Linked DNA regions of Homo sapiens: region 1 is linked to region 2. The links are contacts of gene promoters, found by promoter capture Hi-C in human tissues and cell types (Jung and others, 2019). All regions are on one chromosome and are shown on one strand. Each heading gives the region's core, a stretch centred on a gene start or on the middle of the fragment in contact. The rest is flanking DNA. Distances are from core to core; before and after follow the strand shown.

The links. The method cuts DNA at HindIII sites, captures the fragments that hold promoters and counts their contacts. A contact is called where the count stands out against the background at its distance.
Region 1: the fragment with the promoter of OR8B12 here is called in contact with the fragment with the promoter of OR10D3 in region 2 in 4 of the 25 tissues and cell types used here (IMR-90 fibroblasts, heart left ventricle, mesendoderm cells and 1 more).

Annotation. Positions count from the first base shown.
Region 1 is chr11:124,540,301-124,546,509 of GRCh38, forward strand. It overlaps OR8B12 (olfactory receptor family 8 subfamily B member 12), which reads right to left and starts at 3,354. Exons shown (of 1, transcript NM_001005195.1): 1 at 2,422-3,354. The coding sequence starts at 3,354. The coding sequence ends at 2,422. The HindIII fragment of the contact is 12,708 bases long and covers 1-6,209 here.
Region 2 is chr11:124,178,905-124,185,788 of GRCh38, forward strand. It overlaps OR10D3 (olfactory receptor family 10 subfamily D member 3), which reads left to right and starts at 4,441. Exons shown (of 2, transcript NM_001355213.3): 1 at 4,441-4,479; 2 at 6,355-6,884. The coding sequence starts at 6,366. The HindIII fragment of the contact is 12,854 bases long and covers 1-6,884 here.

The sequences.
Region 1 (6,209 bases), core at 2,104-4,603, 360 kb after region 2:
AACAATAATATATGAGTTGCTCCAAGAATCAGAAAAAGAAAAACCATGTGCCTCATTAGTTAAAATAGATAAGCACGTATAGAACTTTGTGACGGATTAAAAATACTTGCCATCCTGATATTCTTAACTATCAGAGGCTCTGACCTCACCACAATATCAACCAAATAGTGATGGGAGTGGTGCAACCACGAGATGAGGACAGAAGATCAGGGAACCAAAATGTTACCCTGTGGCTCCAGGGCTGGGGTCCACAGTGATGCATCCAGGGCCAAGTGTGCCTCTGTTCTTTCTCTCCCTCCTCAGCTGCATCCCTTCCCAGACCTCTTCTGTGATTGGCTCCTCTTCTTTTTACCCCTGCATTGTTCTCTTATCCCATCCTCTTCTAGGCTGTTTCCTTTGGAAAATGCCTTTTTATACAACTTTAAAACAAGATAGGTGGATGAATAGATAGGCAGATAGATTAGATAAATTAGATAGATATGTACATACATACACAGATACATGCATAGATAGAAAGATACATAGATAGATATGCTCGAATATGAGAAGATTCATAGGAAATCAGCAACAACTGTTGTTTTTAGGAAGGAGATTTTAGGAATGGAATGATAAGATAGGAGGAAGACATATTTTCACTGTATAACCCCCATTTATATTGTTTAGTGCTGTACCATACGCAAATATTACTTAGTCAAAATATATGACTTTTTAAATGATACTTAGAGTTCATTTTTCTCATGACTAAGCAGAGTTCCAGGAAGATGAAGTGACTTGTCTCAGCTCATGGAAAAACTCAAGGAAGTGCTGATAATTACATAAAAGAATTATTGCAGGGTGATAACTAAAATGTAGTAAGTGCCCTGCATTTAATTCTTCAAAGACCCCACGAAGTCAGAATCATTACATCACTTTCAAAAATAAAAAAATTAATATTTAGAGACATTAAGTAATTTGCCCAAAGTCACAAAATTACTAAGCAACTGAGCCAGGATACAAAACCAACTTCATCATGTGCCTCACGAATCGCTGTTTTCATCTGCTCTCTACCTCAAATAGCCTATTCACCTCACCCACCAGACGCCCACCCACAAGTCTCCTGAACTCACTTCTCTTTCCTATTCCACGCTGACTAAAGAAAAATCTTTCCCACCACACACACACACACACGTACACACACACACACTCTCAGTCTTATGACTTCAAGCCCTTCGTGTCATACCAAAGAACAAAACTACACCCTCATCTAAACTTCCCTTTTTCCCAAAGAATATTCCCAAGGAAAAGCTCAGAAATCAAAGTGTCTCCCCAGCACTTAACATGGTTAATGCTAATCCAAAGAACCTTCCTTTGCTACTAATAAATTATTTAGATCAAAGTGTATTGATCTGGCGTGTTCTATAACTATCATTATATGTTGTGGGTTTACAACCCAGTCTTGGATGAATTATCTTTTACCACATATGTTTATATGAGTGCAGTCTGCAGTACCTTAAAATTCAATGGAAATTGCCTCTTTTAATAATCAGCTGCTTAGTGCTGTTTTAATAACTAACTAGATTCTCAACATTATTTACTTCGCCTCGAAAACTTCCAGACCCTTAGTTGATTATCCTAAGCCACATATTTCTCCATCACAGCTCAAACACCCAAACTAACCCTTGAAAAAGCTCTACATTCTGATTCTTTAAGTTTTCAAATGAATGTATGATTTCTACTCAGCATCTTTATAACCCTTAATCCTATGGAAGTCCTAATTCCCTAGACTGGGTTCCTAGGGTTCCACACAACCTCAATCTTAACTCAATGTCAGTCACATTCTACAAACTTGACACAATTCTCTTCTCATTTGGTGAAGACCAACTTAAGAAAATGTTTCATCTTCTATCCTCTTGAAAAAAAATGAAATATTTAAAAATTATTTATTGAGAGGTCACATTAAATTACTATGAATAGAATTAGGTTTTAATGTGTTAAGTTTTCTTACTTTTAAAAGGATATCTGCAAGGGCAGCAATGAAGCATGAAAAAATGACATAAAGAAAAAAAAAGCAGCCTGGAATTCAAGGACCTGGATTCCATTCCCAGTTGTGGCACCAAGTAGTTGTGTGTCCTTGAGCAACATATGTATTTCTGAGTCTCCAACACATGTTAATTGAAGAGACTAGATTAAATAATGTGTAAGGCCAATTCACGATTAAATGGTCTATGATTATAGAAAAATTTGCATAAAATGAAGAAATCCTGGAATAACTAGGTGAAGCAGAGACAGGGAGAATATGTCTGCACTTAACACTCATCCAAATGTAAAGATTTAAAATTCTTTTTCTGTACAAGACAGGAAAAAAATGGAACTTGAATCTCACTGAAAACACACACTAATAAGCAAAGCATTGTATCTCCTTCCTCCAATACTAATCCTTTCTTAAGAAAAGATTTTTCTGCCCAAAGTTCTCCTCAGGGCAACTTTGACATCCTTGTTCCTCAAGCTATAGATTAATGGGTTTAACACGGGGACTATTATGGTATAGAACAGGGAGGACACTTTCCCTTGCTCGAGGGGCAGGATGGAAAGGGGTTTGAGATACATGAAAGCACCAGAACCAAAGAAAAGAGAAACTACAATTATGTGGGAACTGCAAGTACTAAAGGCTTTGGACCTGCCTTCTGTAGAACTGTTGTGTAGAATGCTGGAGAGGATGAGGGCATAAGAAATAAAGACAGTGACAATGGGCATTCCAACGTCAACAGCCACCACAATAAAGACCACCAGCTCATTCATGTAAGAGCTGTTGCAGGAGAGCTCAAGGAGAGGAAGGATGTCACACATGAAATGATTGACAAGGTTGTCAGCACAGAAGGTCAGGTTCATTATGCTTCCTGTGTGGGCCATGGCCCCAGCAAACCCCATCCCATAGGCACCCAACAAAAGGAGCAAACACACCTGGCAAGACATGGTGACTGTGTACAACAGTGGGTTACAGATGGCCACGTAGCGGTCATACGCCATCGCTGACAGGATGAAGGACTCAGAGACGACAAAGAAGCAGAAGAAGAAGAGCTGAGTCATACACCCTGTGAAGGAAATGATGTTCTTCCTTGAGACAAAACTCATCAGCATTTTGGGAGTGATGGTAGTGGAGAAACAGAAATCTATTAAAGAGAGGTTAAAAAGGAAGAAGTACATGGGAGTGTGCAGGTGAGAGTTCAGCCCAATCAGGGTTATCAAGCCCAGGTTCCCCACCACGGTGACCGTGTAGAAACCCAGAAACAGGAAGAAGAGGGGGATCCGCAGTCCCGGCTGGTGGGTTAAGCCTTCGAGGATAAACTCTGTCACAGAAGAGTTTTTGGCTGCCATTCTTTTTGGTCAGGCAGGAGAGTCGGAGGGGACAAGAGAAGAGGACCACTTAGAAAGAAACATCACCACCACATTCTTAGTCTCTATCTCCCATTCTTAGAAAAGGAATCCAAGGAGAGAGATTTGAACTTTGGTAGGAAGGTTTTTACCACTCACTGTGGGTCTATCTTCACAGTCCGAGTGATTATAACTCCCAAAGTGTAATATGAGACTCAACTGTAACTGCAGAATGAGAGCTGGATCTGCTGAAGAAAGGGGTACCAAAAATAATCCAAATGTCTTTTAGATCCTTAGGTCAGTCCCTTTTCTATATCTTTCCCTCTCCTGTCTCTGCTTCACTTGGTAAAACCTGGACCTCTTCCCTGAAGGGAATCCTGAGATGCAGAAGCCACAGTGGCTCTGCTCAGAGCTTCCACCTCTGGGTCCACACTGTCAGATTAAGTAGGTGAGCTCATGCTTTTCCAAGATCTCTTAGCTCAAGTGGCTGTACATTTAATAATTTTTTAAAGCTGACACTTATTGAGTGGTTACTATAAGAGGTTCTGTTTGAAGAGCCATGTAGCAATATTATTATCTTCATTTTACAGATGAAACAAGTAAGATGACATAACTAGACAAAAGTCCCCAAACCACCTGCAGCCAGAAGGTGAATTTCGGCAGTATGGCTCAAATGGCTTGCACTTGAAATCACCATGTTACATAAGTGACCAGCATCGGGGCAGGCACTCACCTTCCTTCCCTTTAGAGCCATAAATGCTATACTCTACTGCCTCTTTTTCACATTCTGGGGAGGAAGATGACCCTAGTGAAGACAAGATGACAGATCTGAGCTCAAAGCCCTCTCTTCCCAGTACAGGTCAAAGGATCAGAACCTCTAATGTATCTCATAACACTTCCTGCACTGAAGGACATGACTTCCAATTGTTCATTTGCCCAAAGGCCTCTCCAGCTTCCAGGAAGGAGACAAAGCTTTTTCCTGACCAGTGAATAACAAAAGACTAAAGAGTTTTATTCTGGATTACAGACCTCAATGATCTGGCCATTAAGATAGAGACTCCCTCAAGACCACTTGCTTAGCAATTAGTTTCCCTAGAGAAGAAGAAATGTTTGTTTATCTCTTGGAATTGCTTGATTTGGCTTTCTACTAACATGTATCCTGTACTATTAAGAGAAAATCATTGTGAAAAAAATGATTGTCATTACCATTTCTTGAATACCCAATAATTTAGTACCTGACATAGTACCCTTATTCCAGCTGCCAAGATCCAGAGTACACATATACAAACATATCTTTATTTATTTCTCACAATACCTATTTTACAGGTAAGTTGCTCACAGAGACAAGATGTTTCAGAGTCCACAGGTATGCTTAGGTCTGTCTGACTCCAAGCCCCTTATGTAGCTGCTAGACTAAACTACCTCCCAAGGACAGCTACTGAAATCCATAAAGCAGAGCCCTTGCCTTCTTGGATCTGACAGTCTCTTGGAAAATAACAAGTAAATATTCAATGAATTTAAGTTTTAAAAGGAAGCAATTAGAGCCTGGAAAGGTTAACACAAAGGGCTATTGTAATTTAGAATAGGCTATTCAATAATTTATTCATATTCCACTCACCTCAGGAATTAATTGCACTACTCTAGTCCCAGCTCAGACAAGAACATACTTCTCTCGTTCCCCTCCCCTGTCCTCTCATGGAGTGTATGTTTAATGGTAACAAGAATCCCTATCAGGTAACTGCTCTCAATGTCTACCAAGACCAGCCTTTCTCTAAATTAATAACTAGTCAAAATTCCCTCTGGCTGTCCCTGCCTTCCACCCACTTTTCTTTGAGCACTTCTCCCAACTGACTTTCCATCTGTTCAGTGCCCTCAAACTGAGTCCTAGTAGACCAGACTCCCACTGCAGGAACACATCCACATTTGTTCTTCCTCTTTGGTTTGCATTTGTCTTTTTCTGTCTTTTACTCCATACCTCCAAGCTCTGCCTGGATTAAAATCGTCTATCCTATGTCTCTGTCTCTAAGATATTTACTTATTTTCTTTAACATCAAACCAACAAACTCATAAAATTTTAGACCCGAAAAGACTTGAGAGAGTATCTCATCCAGTGTTTCCCAAACCTAGCTGGTTATCACAATTATCTAAAATATTCATTAAAAAGAAATGCTGGGCTCCAACCATACCTTTGGAATCAGAATCTCCATAGATATGGATATGGTGGCTGTGTTTTTTTAAAATCTTCCCAAGCATTTCCAATGCCAGGAACTGATAGATTCACAGAACTATTATTTGCCCTCATCTTACAGGCAAAGACCTCTAAAAAGTTCAAAGAAGTAAAGCCATTCACCCAAGGTCACAGATCTCTTCTAAGTCTCCGCATTTCCAATCTCTCCTCATCCATTAACTCACCTGACCTTCATTTTGGCTGGAATGTAAAACACAAATAATGGAAACATAAGTTATGAGACTTTTTATTTCAAGTGTGATGGTATAGCTATTATTGCACTTACCCCTCTGACCACAAAAAAAAAGAAAGAAAAAAAAAGGCTGGAAAAAGTGTATAAAGCAACTATTTGCAATACTTGGAAAGTAGACAACACAGGGATGAAATTCTTGAGAAAAGGCAAAAAAACAAGGTAACTAACACATTCACCCCAACTTTCTCTAAGGCCAGTTTCTAAACGATGCATAGTAAAGTGATGCCCCAACAAATGGCAGCAGCTTCTACTAGTGGAATGAAAAAGTGTAAGGAGGCTAAGACAGCTGGAATGTGTGGGGCAAGGAATGGAGAATAAAAAGCCAAAAAAAAAAAAAGGACCCTCAGGTACCTGCACAAAGGACTCCCTTAAGTTCTT
Region 2 (6,884 bases), core at 3,191-5,690:
AGATTACAAGAGCAGAACAAGGAACATTTTCTAGAAAACTCAAGGAGGAATGATTGAATGGAAGAAAATGATTAACCAGACAATGGTCGGCCTTGAAAAAGTGTCATTCCTGTTCATGGAAGTGCAGGAATGCATTCTGAGTGCTGCAGAGGATATTCTGAATTCTGCAGGGCAACATTTTCAAATCAGGGGTTTGAAAGCCTCCAGAGATCCAAAAAAATAATTCTAACCTTTCATATAGGTAGGGATAGCAATAGTGCACTCTTTTCCAATATGATTCTTAAAAACAAACACACATTAAGAAAAATATTTTAATACCTTTTCATCCATATAAAATTTTTTGAGAGCCTCTGTACGTGTGGTCTGAGTGAACACGTGCAATAAAGGATGTGGGGACATATGCTCATGTTTCAGTCACTGATTTGGTGATATGCAAAAATAACAACTGCTTATGTTAACCATTATAGTCTTAAAGTGTTTGTCTTCTCATTTATATATAATTTATACCCATTTTGGACTAGTGATTAACTAGAGGAAATATGAGGAAAAATAATGTTGAGCTCAAAATAAATAAACATGATAAGTAGACTGGCATTAATCACGTATGCTTGGCTCATGTTGCACTTAAGAAATTGTATTCATTTCATCATATTCTGGTATTTCAAAAATGTTGTTAAAATATACAGTGACAATTTTACTCCCAGTTTTATTTCATTTCTGAGGATAGACACCATATACCTGGTTATAAAAAATTGAGAAGTGCTTACAAATAGAAGCCTGAGTCTTTCCCTTTCCAACATTATTTAAATTCTTTAACTATGAAATGCTAACATTCTAAAGAATGTGTTTTGAAAACCGGTTTTGTTCATTTTCACACCCTAACAAGTCCTAAAATTTTACTCCGTATTTTAATATATATTTGGTGAACAAGCCAAACATGGCATAATTCAGCATTTAAAAAATTATGTGTTCAATAAATTGTGGTTTTCATAATTAATTTTAAATAAATTAAATGGTACGTGCTTTTTATTGGCTGGGAATAAATACGTATCTGTTTTATATGTTATTTATATTAATTTATATCATAGTATTTAAAATAAATTTAATAATATACTTTTCAATTTATTTCAGCCAGTTTTAAAAATTATTATGTAAAATATTTTTAAATATTCTGCAAATTTTAAATATATTACAAAATTGAAAGACTATTAATGAACACATGTATTCCTTATAGCTGGTATAGAAATTGAATATAATCTAGACATTCTTTCTGTGTATTTCTGTTAGTCCTATCCTCCCAGAAGTTAATAGCAATCTGAATTTTTGTTAAGGAAATTTCTTTATTTTATTTATTTACCACCTATGTATGCATTCCCAAACAATATATTATTTAGTTTTTTCTGGTTTTGAAATTTGTTTAAATATGCTCAAACATGATGCTTTTTTCCTTTTCAAACTTACTTTTGAGATTCATTCATTTTGATGCATATAGCTGTAATTTTACATCTTTATATATTTATTTGGTCTATGGTTGTCAGACATGTGGGTGATTTTTAATTACTGTTAAAAACATTCTTCTGCACGTCACTGGGTCACCACTTCAAGAGTTTCTCTAAAAAGATATATTTAGGAGTGGAATGCCAAAGAGCTTTCCAAAATGTAATGATTATAACAAATACATTCATACCCTCAGTGGATGATATTTCACAGCACTTCCATTCTTCAACACTTTATATTAACATCCTTCTTAGTATCTGCCAATCTGATGGTATGTGAATGTATATATTGCATTGTAAAATTTTGGTCCCTGATTACTGGTAAAGTTAAGCATCTTCTAATATGTTTAATGACAATTTAGGTTTCCTCCTTTGGAAAATTTATGCTATTTTTTAGTTCATTTTCTTTTGAGTATTTGGACTTTTATAAAATTGATTCATAGTAGTTCTGTATGTATTCTGGATACTAATCTTTTCTTGGTAAGATGTCCTGCAAATATCTTCCCCTAGTTTGCAGCTTCTCTTTTTATTAGCTTTAAGCCATTTTTTTGATAAAATCAATGGCTTCCTTTAAGGTGACTTACCAAAACTTTCTTTTATGATTAAAGATTATTGTGTCTTACTTAGAAATAACATATTACCTTTAATTTGCCTTTAATTTTATTTTTATTTTTTCGCTTTTAAATCTTTAATCCACCTGGAATTGGTTCTTGCTCATGACCAAGGTAAGAATTCAATTCCCTTCTACTTTTAAAAAACACAAATAGCCAATTGTCCCAGGATCACTTATTTAATAGTTTATCGTTCCCCCACTGTCCTACAATGCATCTCATATGGCCCCTGGTGACTCCCACCTTCTAGGATTCATGCTTTGTGTAATCACCTGCCCTGATTTAGTGACTTGGTTCTAGTGAATAGAATGTGGTTCTAGTGAGTAGAGTTGAAGAAGTATCATTTTGGAGATTAGATCATAAAAGGTGGTGCCTTCCATCTTGGGTTCACTGGCCCGATCTTACTGTCTCTTGACTTGGTTGCCTTGGGAGAAGTCAGCTCCCATGTTATGACACAGTTCTGTGGACAGGGCCAGGTCTGCCAGTAGCCATGTGAGTAAGCTTGGAAATAGATCCTTTCCCAGTCAAACCTTCAGAGGAGACCACAGCCCCAGCTGGTAGCTTGACTGTAACTTCATGAGAGACCCTGATCCAGAGGAATTGAGTTAAGGTGTGCTTGGATTTCTGAGTCACAGAAAGCATGAGATAATAAATGCCTCTAAGCCACAAAAGTTTGGAGTAATTGGTTATGCAGTAAGCAATAGAAACTTTTACATACGACTCTTCATATTTTCTATTTTTAGTCAGTTTTCACAAATTAATAAGCATTTGATAAATTATTTTGACAAATCATTTGAATATCTTGGCAAATGTTGTAATATCTCTTTTCATTCTGCTTAATCCATGTGCTTCTGTCATCCTTTCATTCCTCATGTTTATATGTGCCTTCTCACTTTTTTCAAGAATCATTTTTAAAGAAGTACTTCTATTTTCTTAGTCTTTTCAAAGAGCCAAATTTAGCATTGCTGACCTCTTTTCTTTTGTTTTCTCTACTTTATTATTTCAGGTTTTTACATATTTTTCAGTTCTTTGACAACTCTGTAACTGTTACGTTACATGAAAGAGGAATAATTTCCAGATTACAAATGTCTGGAATCTCAAAGGGCAAGGTTCTTGACTCCTTTCACAGAAGAGAAGGTCAAGATTAAGGAAATTTGTCTTATTCTTGGTTGTATAGGTTATTAATTAATGTTTGTTGAATAATACTTTGATATAATTCTGGGAATATCATCAGGAGAACTATTTCTGGTTCAGGAAATTCAGCTGTGCCAATTGACAAATGTTTGTTGGAGTCTAGGAAAAGAAATTCTATTTCTATATCAAAATATTAGAAACCATAGTCTGAAAAGTAGAAGAACTATGTTAGTTCACTAGGGCTGCCATAACAAAACAGAATATACTAGGTGACACAAACAACAGGAATTTTTTTTCTCGCAGTTCTGCAGATTGTAAAATTCAAGATCAAGGTTGCACAGGTTTTGCAGCAGGGTTTGGTTTCTGGGGCTTAGAGATGGGGCTGTCTTCTTGCTGTGTTCTCACATGGAGAGATAAAGGGAGAGAAAAAGACAGGCAGAGAGAGAGAGAGAAAGAGACAGAGAGAGAGATCTGATGTCTCTCCTTTTACAAAGATACCAGTTCTATTGCATCAGGGCTTCATCCTTATGGTCTCATTTAACTTTATTCACCTTCTTAAAGACCCTACTTCCAATACAGTTACGTGGATTGGGTGTGTTAAGAGTTTCAACACGAATTTTTGAAGGAACACAATTCAGTTCATGGCAAGAACTATGAAGAAACTGAGATTAAAATATTTAAAATTGGATATTTTTAAAAGTCTGAGATATATGGTTGTTAGGTTATTTCTCATTCCGATAATGTATCCTGAAACTGGGTAACTGGTTTCTACATATGTCCTAGGATTGGGCTATACCATTCACCTTTTTTCTCCTTTCCCAGGGTCAATCTTAGAGGTAGAAAATAGAGATTTGGCTCCCCCTTGTTCCTATCCAGCACTGTCACAGTGGGAAACATCACCATATTCTATTTCAACTAGACAGTTTACTCACTTCTAATTACTCCCTTTGCTCAACAACCTCCTTGAATAGGACTCATTCAGGAATGGGGTCCCAAAGGCTCCAAAGATATTTAAATTTCCACGTAGGAGAAAGCAATGTAGATATCAGTGTCTTGGAAGATGTCTGTGCAGAAGACAGAGACGCACGCTGCTGCATGTCATTTAGTCAGAGTTTATTTGGCTAAGAAGAAAGCATTCCAGATCATGGGTGGAGATCCCTAACCTCTAATATGCCAAAGGAAAATTTGGACTAAAAATCCTATACAAACAGATGATTAAATGATCATACTTTCTCTTTGTAAGTTACATAAGTGCCATCTTTGCCTCTTTCTCTCTCTTTCTTTCTCTCTCTCTTTCTCTCTCTCTTTCTCTCTCTTTCTCTTTCTTTCTCTTTTTTTCTCTTTCTTTTTTTTTCTTTCTTTCCCCTTCCTTCCTTCCCTCCCTCCCTCCCTGCCTCCTTCCCTCCTTCCCTCCTTCCCTCCCTCCCTCCCTCCCTGAGTCTCACTCTGTTGGCCAGGCTGAAGTGCAGTGGCACGATCTCAGCTCACTGCAACCTCCACCTCCCGGGTTCAAGCAATTCTCCTGCCTTAGTCTCCAGAGTAGCTGAAATTATAGGGGCCCTCACCTCTTTTTTCACTCCTCTTTTATGCTTTGTGTATCCAATGGAGAGGAAAATTTGGAGTCCTCAGTTTACAAAGTATTCTCAGAATTCAGAATGAACAGAGAGCATGGATCTACTGGCCAGAAGAATAGATCTTATTTGCTTGGTTTATCTTTGAGCCCATTGTGCTGGCCCATCAGCTCACAAACCCCATTCTTGTTATTTCACTTTACAATCAGGAATTTGGACTTGATTTTATATTATTAAAGTAACAGAAACTCTAAATGAGCCCATATGTGGATATCTTCATTTGATTCTTTCTTTGATGTATGACAGCCAGGACATTTTTGGAAGCAGTATAGATTATATGTAGCACTTGTCTTGGGTCTGATTGCTTTTTGGAATGTAGTGTAGAGCTTCTTCTGGAGTGCAGGTGACATGATTGTAAACAGAGAAATTCCAAATATACAGGAAATGGGCAAAAGAGAAACAGGTAGATGATCAAGTTGCTTTAGAAGACTGTGAGGAGAAATTACTATCTGATAGTACCACACAGATCCTTGCACAAGAGGAATGATATCCAATTCTTGCCAGGCATTGAGTGAGTTATCTTATTTCCTTCATCAAACGTTTATTGAAAAAGGCACTGTTCTTTGCACTGAGAGTATAATCGTAAACACAAAAAATATTTACTCTCCTAGATGTTATATTTGTGTGTGTGTGGGGAGGTAGCTGGATATATATTGATTTTCCATTGCTTACTAAGGAGGAGGAGGAACAACATTTTAAGAGCCTGGTGATGTCCAAATGAAAAACATGGTTAATACCGGGGTAAGATTTGACAAGGCCAGTAATGCCGTGATCTATCACAGATGGATCCATCCAGACCCGGGGGAAAGACTGATGTTTAAAAAGAAAAAAAAAGAATGTAGATGCCTAGTTCTACCAAGAACTAGCTGCCTTAATTTAGGAGAGTCACCTAGCCTTCCTACTGCTCAAATGTAATCTTTTCTGTAGACCTCCTCAAAAAGTGACTGCCAGGATTAGATGAACGGAGATCATGTTGTATAAGTGTTTTGAACTGCAAAGCAGGGATCAACCTTTATGATTCCCTTAAAAAACGTAGACATAAAATCTAACGTTGTTGCTAATAATGGCTTACAAATATGATGATTCCCGAATTGTGGTTCATATCTCCAGTGATATAAAAAAGCCCTCAAATAATCCTGACATTTCACATCCTTCTACCCCGGGAGGAGGAGCATGTGTTTGGATGGATCCTGCCCTCTCTTTAAAAATCTTTGCTCTAACAAGGTCAGAATATTGTTTTAATAATGGGCATTTGTATTTCGAATAAGTATAACAAAAATATTTGCTACAGAAATGTAGTTGGCTATGGCGGTTACATTCCAAGGATAATGCCTTGTAACTTGAATCACAAGCAGCCTTTCCATAACTTAGATGCAAATCACAGTCACTTAATTGACAAGTTTTATTTCTCCAGTATGTTCACTTGATTGACAGCAAGCCAAGGCATTCTTCCATGTCCTCAGCCTCCTCTTTCCTTCCTAGGACTGGCTTCCATGGAGGTGAAGAACTGCTGCATGGTGACAGAGTTCATCCTTTTGGGAATCCCACACACAGAGGGGCTGGAGATGACACTTTTTGTCTTATTCTTGCCCTTCTATGCCTGCACTCTACTGGGAAATGTGTCTATCCTTGTTGCTGTTATGTCTTCTGCTCGCCTTCACACACCTATGTATTTCTTCCTGGGAAACTTGTCTGTGTTTGACATGGGTTTCTCCTCAGTGACTTGTCCCAAAATGCTGCTCTACCTTATGGGGCTGAGCCGACTCATCTCCTACAAAGACTGTGTCTGCCAGCTTTTCTTCTTCCATTTCCTCGGGAGCATTGAGTGCTTCTTGTTTACGGTGATGGCCTATGACCGCTTCACTGCCATCTGTTATCCTCTGCGATACACAGTCATCATGAACCCAAGGATCTGTGTGGCCCTGGCTGTGGGCACATGGCTGTTAGGGTGCATTCATTCCAGTATCTTGACCTCCCTCACCTTCACCTTGCCATACTGTGGTCCCAATGAA